Regions from separate parts of the Homo sapiens genome. Here region 2 is linked to region 1. The links are contacts of gene promoters, found by promoter capture Hi-C in human tissues and cell types (Jung and others, 2019). All regions are on one chromosome and are shown on one strand. The core of a region is centred on a gene start or on the middle of the fragment in contact, and the rest is flanking DNA. Distances in the headings are between cores, read along the strand shown. Region 1 holds the start of ZBTB8A (zinc finger and BTB domain containing 8A). Region 2 overlaps YARS1 (tyrosyl-tRNA synthetase 1).

Region 1 (4,485 bases), core at 1,440-3,939:
TAAATGATCCTTCAGCTTTGGAAGATTTAGAATTAAGTACAGATGCTCTTCAACTGACGATGGGGTTACATTCCAATAAACCTATTTTAAGTTGAAAACATTGTAAGTTTAAAATGCATTTAATACCCCATTAAACGCACTGTAAAGTCAAAAAATCGTAAGTCAAGCCATTGTAAGTCAGTGATCGTCTGTATTAAAAACATTTAAGAGCTATGGTTTGAACATTTGTGTCCCCTCCAAAATTCATGTTGAAACTTCATCCCGATTGCAACGGTATCATCTTTAGGAGGTGATTGGGCCACGAAGACTCTGCCCTCATGGATGGAATTAGTGCCCTTATAAAAGCACCTGAGGGAGTGAGTTTAGCCTCTTCTGCCCTTCCATTCCTTCTGCCACGTGAGGACACAGCAGTCCTCCCATCCAGAGGATGCAGCAACACGGTGCCATCTTGGAAGCAAAGAGCAGCCCTCACTAGACACCAAACTGCCTAAACTTCTCAGCCTCCAGAAGTGTGAGAAATAAATTTGTTCTTTATAATTACCCAGTCCCAAAGTATTTTTATAGCTGCACAAATGGCCTGAGACAGAAAAGATTTAGAATTAATAAAAACACTTAAGAGAATCAAAACTATAGTTGAGGAAAGCCTCATTGAGAAGATGGCATTTGGGTAAAGTCCAAAGGAAGTAAGAGAGTCATGTGGGTGTCTGGGGGAAGAGCATTTCAGGCAAAGGGAACGGCAAGTGCAAAGGCCCTGAGGTGAGCAGGCAAGGAGGCATGGGGGAAGCAATGGGATATGGAGTCAGAAAGGGAAAGCAGATCATGAGAGAAGTAGGACATGGTGAGACCAGGTGCTTGTAAGGCTGCATAGACTATTATGGAGCTTTTGGCTTTTAAACTGCGTAAGATGGGGAGCCACTGACCAATTTTGAGCAGAAAAGTGGCAAAAGCTTCATTCAAGGGAATCAAACACATCAAATCTTTAAATATGATTAACATATCATTGTGTCACTGAGTTAAGTCTATTACACAGTTTTATCTAAAAATTAGATTTAAATGACATACGATGAATTAAATTACTCTATCTTACAAAGTTTTTGATGGCCCCAAATCATTATCAACAGCGAAGCTGGTGATTTCAGGGCTAGGAGATAAGGGTTAGTGGTGTGGCCTCCTTCCTGGAGTCCCTACTCATTATGCCTCCTGCTGACATTTTAGAGCACAATCCACCCAGACACCCATTTGATCAAGGGCCCTAAGCCAGATTCTCACTTCCCAGTTGCCACTTGTGTGGCCAGAGAGGTTCCCAGGAATAAAGACATCTGATCCCTGCTTATCAGTGAGGGGCTCTTGCTCCAGTCTACAAACGCATCCATACCTGAGGCATGGAGGAGATAAGACTGGAGCAGAAGCTTGTTGAGGATTTTGGAGGCTTTCCTGAAAAAGATCAGTTAAGGTTTTTAGAGCAGGGAAGCGCTGTGTTAAGACTGGCCCTTCTAAAGACTCCTCTGGAGGTGCCTTAGGAGGGAAGGCAGGGCGGGAACAGGAGGCCCTGGGCGGCTATGGTCACCCTAGCCTAGAGGTGAAACGCCATGCTTCATACGTGTTCCCTCATCTGCAAAGTGGAATTACCGTCAGCCTGACTAGGTGGTTGTTTTATGTGAAATTAAGTGAAATAATTCATATAGGTGAAAGCACTCCATTTAAAGTTGTGCAACTATAAAGGTTTATCAAGCATAGAGGTGATATTGACGTGTGTGGTTAGAAGCCCACCAGGTGTGTGTGAATCTACCGCTTCCAAACGCGTCTTAGAATGATGTGGAGTAGGGCCATTGGAACAATCGGGGATACATAAGCGCATCTGAAGGGGAAGGGAACAAGCCGCTGACTAACTCACAAAAGAGGCGGTCCGCATGGGTAGAGATGAGCATGTAAGGTTCCGTCCAGAAGCAAATAGTTGGGAGCTCAACATTGGTTAGGCGCGGTGAGTTCGCCCTCGGTTCTAAGCCCAGATGTCGCATCTTGACATAAAACCAAGGATGGAGGCTGCACCGAGAAACTCGGGCTACTGCCCTGGGAGCCAGGTTCCCCGGCAGCGCCCCTGGCCGCGCCCGCAGAGACTCCGGCCCCGGCCCTGCCCTGCCCTCCCCGCGCGCCCCCGCGGCGGCCGCCCGTCTTTGCTCCGCGCAGCCCGAGCCCCTCCAGAGTCCGCGGCGCCCGACGGCTCCAGACACGCCCGGCGCCGTCCCCGCCGCCTTCCCGCCGCCGCCTCCAGGAGGCTCCGCGCGCCTTCCCGCCTTTCCCCGGGCCGGGCCGGGCGGCGAGGCGGGCGCGGGCGGCGACGGCGCGGCCATTGTCCCGCAGCCCCTCCCGGGCGCCTCCCGCCGCGCTCCCGGCCCGGGGACGTCTGGGGGAGGCGCGCCCGGGGCCCGCATCCCAGCACTGCCGCCGCCCGGGCCGTCAGAGCCCGCGGCCAGGCTCGCGGCGGGTCCCGGGCAGCCCCGACGCCCGCCCGCCCTCCGCCGGCGCCGCGTGCAGCCACTTACCGCGGGCCGCGGCGCACCGGCCGGTCGCGCGCGCGGGCCGAGGGAAGATTCCTGGTTCTCGGCTGGGGAAGGACCCCCTTTCGAGGCCGTTCCTTTGCGCCCTAAAACAAGTAGCCCCAACGTGAGAGAAACAAAAGGTATTTGCTGACGTGGGCGTTGGACAGAAACGCCCGAGGGCTGGGGACACAATTAAAGGGGCAACGCACAGATTTCAGGCACCAACCAGCAGCTTCGCCCACTCCCCCTGCCCTTGCCCACACTCGCTGCACGCTCCAGAGACACCGGGGTGCCCAGATTCTCTAGCAGTTGACTGCGGATCATGATTTTAGTCAGGAGCTGAAATTTAAAATTGTACTTTACGTTGGGAAAGGCGCCTCCGGAGGGCAGAAGGGCTGGATTTCTAGGATCTGGGGATTTGGTTTAGGAAAGAGGGAGGGACTTAGGCGTGCCCACAATTACTGTATAAGTACATGTGACATTATTGTACTTAAGTTTAGCAACGTCAAATGCAAAAGATTTCCACAGAATTTTCCCTTGTACTGAAGCAGTTATTTTAGTTGAGGATAACCTTTTCTAAACCTGTACAGGTCAGAAGCATTTCATTTGAATAGGAAAACCCAGAGAGGCTGAGATAAGAGAACATAATTCTTAGTTAAGTCCAGAGAAATATAAAATTAGTAAAAATAGCAAGTTGCGTCTTTTCCAATGCAAGCATTCATCGTACACCAAGCTTCCTCTGACAAATTTACGTCTCTAATATTTAGAGTACAGATATCAGGTTATACATTTGCTAAAATAGTAAATCAATGGATTTTCACTGTTACTGTAGAAGCATTACTTCTATAAATTAGTTTTCTAGTTCCTTATGCTGGGGTCAGGTACTGAAAAGTACTGTGTTATAGTAAAACTGGAGGGAAAAGGTTCAAATTATCAAAACTTGCGTTTAGCTTTTAATGGATTCCTCTCCTGTTCAAAATCATTCATATTGGACAGTTTGTAACTTTGATTTCAGGAATAATTAGCTATGCATTTTGAGGATACAAGATATTCACAATTGTCTCAATGTCACTTCTGTGTCACTGCAGAGGTGCTTTGCTATTTAGTTGCATTTCCTCACCTTCTGAACAGGTAAGTAGAAACATATTTGAAAACCATTAGGTGTCTGGTGTGTTGGATGTACTCAGATTACTCTGCTAGCGCCCCCATTGAGAATTCCCCCAGAAAGACCTGGACATGGTTTTAGCCAAAGGTTTTATTTTAGCCTTAGTTAATTAAAACATGCAAAAGAGTTCCACAAACATATTCCTCAAGAGAGCACATCAGGTTGGTGATAAACTCTTTGTTGAGGCCGGGTGTGGTGGCTCACACCTATAATCTCAGCACTTTGGGAGGCCGAGGTGGGCGGATCACGAGGTCAGGAGGTTGAGACCAGCCTGGCCAACATGGTGAAACCCCATCTCTACTTAAAATACAAAAATTAGCTGGGCATGGTGGTGCGCGCCTGTAATCCCAGCTACTGGGGCAGCTGAACCAGGAGAATGGCTTGAACACAGGAGGTGGAGTTTGCAGTGAGCCAAGATCGTGCCACTGCACTCCAGCCTGGGTGACGGAGCAAGACTCCATTTCAAAAACAAAAACAAAAACAACAAACAAAAATAACCTCTTTGTTGCAAGGAAGAGGTAATGAGAGTTTTGTCCCTCACCTTCATTCTCCTAGCTTTGGGAGCACGTTTCTGTATGCTAGAGCTCCACCATTAACCAGTGCTAGTCTCTTAAACTCTGTCTCCCACCCCACCCAACCCCCATCCCTGTTTCCACCTATTCAGTTCAAATCTTGAGGAAGATAATCCATTCCTTTTTTTTTTTTTTTTTTTTTTTTTTTTTGGAGACGGAGTCTTGCTCTGTCACCCAGGCTGGAGTGCAATGATGCAATCTCGGCTCA
Region 2 (4,485 bases), core at 1,139-3,638, 270 kb before region 1:
TTGTTCTGATGGCTGTCTTGCATAATTGCCTGTCAGGAGGTATGGTTGGTGTTATCTTGACTTCAGACTGATGGTGATGGACTAATCGTTCCAGACTCCCTCTGAGCAGGAGGATTCTGCAGTCTGGGCTCCATGCCTAGTTTGTTTCAAGATTAGCTTCTGTGATTTCTTTTTTTCCAACTTTTATTTTAGATTCAAGGGGTGCATGTGCAGGTTTGTTACATGTCACAGGAGTTTGGTGTACAGACAATTTTGTCACCCAGGTAATCAGCACAATACCCAATAGGTAGTTTTTGAATCCTCACCCTCCTCTCTGAAATTTCTTAAGCAAGAACATAATTAAATAAGCATGCATTGCCAGAAGGGAGGGAAAGAAGAAGAAAGTTGGTGATTAAAATATATTTTTAAAACCGAGATCCCTGGTTACACTAAGGTTAGGGAAGTAAATTAATGTGCTTTAGATTTCCTAGGAAACTGAGGCCTAGGCCCAGGTTTACAGCTGTCCCCTCTTCCTTTCCTCTTCAGAGAGTACACACTAGATGTGTACAGACTCTCCTCCGTGGTCACACAGCACGATTCCAAGAAGGCTGGAGCTGAGGTGGTAAAGCAGGTGGAGCACCCTTTGCTGAGTGGCCTCTTATACCCCGGACTGCAGGTACTTAAGGGGGATGGAGTGGCCCGATGACCTTTTCTGCTCTGGTTTGATGACAGGCATATCTTATTGCACTTTGCTTTACTGCACTACGCAGATATTGTGTTTTTTACAAATTGAAGGTGTGTGGCAACCCTGTGTACAGCAAGTCCACCAGCACCATTTTTCCAACAGCATGTGCTCACTTCGTGTCTCTGTGCTACATTTTGGTAATTCTCACAGTATTTCAAGCTTTTTCATTATTATCATATCTGCATGGTGATATGCGATCTGTTACCTTTGATGTTAAATATTGTAATTGTTTTGGGGCACCACAAACTGTGCCCGTATAAGACAACGAACTTAATAAGTATTGTGTGTGTTCTGACTACTCTACCATCCAGCCATTTCCTCACTCTCCTGGCCTCCTCATTTCCTAAAACACAACAATATTGAAATTAGGCTAATTAATAACCCTACAATGGCCTCTAAGTGTTGAAAGGGAGAGTCACACATAGCTCACTTTATTTATTTATTTATTTTTGAGACGGAATCTCGCTGTGTCGCCCAGGCTGGAGTGCAGTGGCGAAATCTCGGCTCACTGCAACCTCCGCCTCCCGGGTTCAAGCAATTCTCTGCCTCAGCCTCCCGAGTAGCTGGGATTACAGGCGCCTGCCACCATGCCCGGCTGATTTTTTTTGTATTTTTAGTAGAGATGGGGTTTCACCATCTTGGCCAGGCTGGTCTTGAACTCTTGACCTCATGATCCACCCACCTTGGCCTCCCACAGTGCTGGGATTATAGACGTGAGCTACCGTGCCCGGCCGCACATCTGTCACTTTAAATCTACACCTAGAAATGATTAAGCTTAGTGAAGAAGGAATGTCAAAAGCGGAGGCAGGCGGAAAGCTCGGCCTCTTGCACCAAATAGCCAGGTTGTGAATCCATAGGGAAAGTTCTTGAAGGAAATTCAAAGTGCTACTCCAGTGAACACCTGAAAAATAGAAACAGACATAAGTTTCACTTATGCTGATATAGAGAAGATTGTAGTGCTCTGGATAGAAGATGAAACCAGCCACAATGTTACCTTAATCTAAAGCCTACTCTAGAGAAAGGCCCTGTCTTCAGTTTTATGAAGGCTGAGAGATTGGTTCATGACATTTAAAGGGAAAAAAGCCATCTCCATAACATAAAAGTGCAAGGTGGCTCTCCCTCTCTCCCTCTCTCCCTCTCTCCCTCTCCCCCTCTCCCCCTCTCCCCCTCTCCCCCTCTCCCCCTCTCCCCTTTCCACCGTCTCCCTCTGATGCCGAGCCGAGGCTGGACTGTACTGCCGCCATCTTGGCTCACTGCAACCTCCCTGCCTGATTCTCCTGCCTCAGCCTGCCGAGTGCCTGGGATTGCAGGCGCGTGCCGCCACGCCTGCAATTTGTATTTTTTGGTGGAGACGGGGTTTCGCTGTGTTGGCCGGGCTGGTCTCCAGCTCCTGACCGCGAGTGATCTACCCGCCTCGGCGTCCCGAGGTGCCGGGATTGCAGACGGAGTCTCGCTCACTCAGTGCTCAATGTTGCCCAGGCTGGAGTGCAGTGGCGTGATCTCAGCTCGCTACAACCTCCACCTCCCAGCCGCCTGCCTTGGCCTCCCAAAGTGCCGAGATTGCAGCCTCTGCCTGGCTGCCACCCCATCTGGGAAGTGAGGAGCGTCTCTGCCTGGCCGCCCATCGTCTGGGATGTGAGGAGCCCCTCTGCCCGGCCGCCCAGTCTTGGAAGTGAGGAGCGCATCTTCCCGGCCGCCATCACGTCTGGGAAGTGAGGAGCGTCTCTGCCCGGCTGCCCATCGTCTCAGATGTGGGGAGCACCTCTGCCCCGCCGCCCCGTCTGGGATGTGAGGAGCGCCTCTGTCCGGCCGCGACCCGGTCTGGGAACTGAGGAGTGTCTCTGCCCGACCGCCACCCCGTCTGGGAGGTGAGGAGCGTCTTTGCCCAGCCGCCCCGTCTGAGAAGTGAGGAGCCCCTCCGCCTGGCAGCCGCCCCGTCTGGGAAGTGAGGAGCGTCTCCGCCCGGCAGCCGCCCCGTCCGGGAGGTGGGGGGCAGCCGCCGCCCGGCCAGCCGCCCTGTCCAGGAGGGAGGTGGGGGGCAACCCCCGCCCGGCCAGCCACCCCGTCCGGGAGGGAGGTTGGGGGTGCCTCTGACCGGCCGCCCCGTCTGGGAAGTGAGGAGCCCCTCTGCCCGGCGGCCACCCCGTCTGGGAGGAGTACCCAACAGCTCGTTGAGAACGGGCCATGATGACGATGGCGGTTTTGTCGAATAGAAAAGGGGGAAATGTGGGGAAAAGAAAGAGAGATCAGATTGTTACTGTGTCTGTGTGGAAAGAGGTAGACATGGGAGACTCCATTTTGTTCTGTACTAAGAAAAATTCTTCTGCCTTGGGATGCTGTTAATCTATAACCTTACCCCCAACCCCGTGCTCTCTGAAACATGTGCTGTGTCCACTCAGGGTTAAATGGATAAAGGGCGGTGCAAGATGTGCTTTGTTAAACAGATGCTTGAAGGCAGCATGCTCGTTAAGAGTCATCACCACTCCCTAATCTCAAGTACCCAGGGACACAAACACTGCGGAAGGCCGCAGGGTCCTCTGCCTAGGAAAACCAGAGACCCTTGTTCACATGTTTATCTGCTGACCTTCCCTCCACTATTGTCCTATGACCCTGCCAAATCCCCCTCTCCGAGAAACACCCAAGAATGATCAATAAATACTATTAAAAAAAAAAAGTGCAAGGTGAAGCAGCAAGCCCTGATGTAGAAGTTGCAGCAAGTTACCCAGAAGATCTAGCTAAGATCATTGATGAAGGTGGCTACACTCAACAATGGATTTTCAAGGTAGATGAAATAGCCTTTTTTCGGAAGAAGATGCCATCTCGGACTTTCGTAGCTAGAGAGAAGTTGATTCCTGGCTTCAAATCTTCAAAGGACAGGCTGACTCTCTTGTTAGGAGCTAATGCAGCTGGTGACTTGAAGTTGAAGCCAATGCTCATTTACATTCCAAAAATCCTAGTGCCTTTAAGAATTATGCTAAATAGGCCGGGCATGGTGGCTCATGCCTGTAATCCCAGCACTTTGGGATGCCGAGGTGAGCAAATCACTTGAGGCCAGGAGTTCGAGACCAGCCTGACCAACATGGTGAAACCCGGTCTCTACTAAAACTACAAAAAAAAAAAAAAAAAGAAGAATTAGGCCAGGCATGATGGCTCACACCTGTAACTCAGCACTTTGGGAGGCCGAGGCAGGCAGATCACGAGGTCAGGAGTTCGAGACCAGCCTGGCCATCATAGTAAAACCCCGTCTCTACTAAAAATATTAATTAGCCGGGCATGGTGGTGCGCAACTGTAGTCCCAGCTACTCAGGAGGCTGAGGCAGGACAGTCGCTTGAACCCGGGAGGTGGAGATTGCAGTAAGCCGAGATCGCACCATTGCACTCCAGCCCGGGCAACAATGCAAGACTCTGTCTCAAAAAAAAAAAAAAAAAAAAAATAGCCAGGCGTTGTGGCGCGCATCTGTAACCCCAGCTACTCGGAAGGCTGAGGCAGGAGAATCACTTATACCCAGGAGGCAGAGATTGCAGTGAGGTGAGATCACACCACTGCACTCCAGCCTGGGTAACAGAGTGAGACTCCATCTCAAAAAAGAATTATGCTAAGTCTACTCTGCCTGAGCTCTATAAATGGAACAACAAAGCCTGGATAGTAGCACGTCTGTTAACAGTATGATTTACTGAGCATTTTAAGCCCACTTTTGAGACCTACTCCTCAAAAAGAAAGATTCTTTTCAAAACATTACTGCTCATTGACAGTGCACCTG

What was found. Contacts are between HindIII fragments. The study calls those that stand out against the background at their distance.
Region 2: a fragment that was not itself captured here is called in contact with the fragment with the promoter of ZBTB8A in region 1 in 1 of the 25 tissues and cell types used here (dorsolateral prefrontal cortex).

What each region holds. Positions count from the first base shown.
Region 1 is chr1:32,537,631-32,542,115 of GRCh38, reverse strand. It overlaps ZBTB8A (zinc finger and BTB domain containing 8A), which reads right to left and starts at 2,689. Exons shown (of 5, transcript NM_001040441.3): 1 at 2,544-2,689. It overlaps LOC124903952 (a long non-coding RNA gene), which reads left to right. Exons shown (of 2, transcript XR_007065669.1): 2 at 287-540. RefSeq lists a silencer at 1,957-2,326. The HindIII fragment of the contact is 4,148 bases long and covers 1,179-4,485 here.
Region 2 is chr1:32,802,652-32,807,136 of GRCh38, reverse strand. YARS1 (tyrosyl-tRNA synthetase 1) reads left to right here. Exons shown (of 13, transcript NM_003680.4): 4 at 526-655. Among named protein-coding and RNA genes, the nearest start is that of YARS1, 12 kb to the left of the region's middle. RefSeq lists enhancers at 1,771-2,444, 2,445-3,119. The HindIII fragment of the contact is 4,745 bases long and covers 16-4,485 here.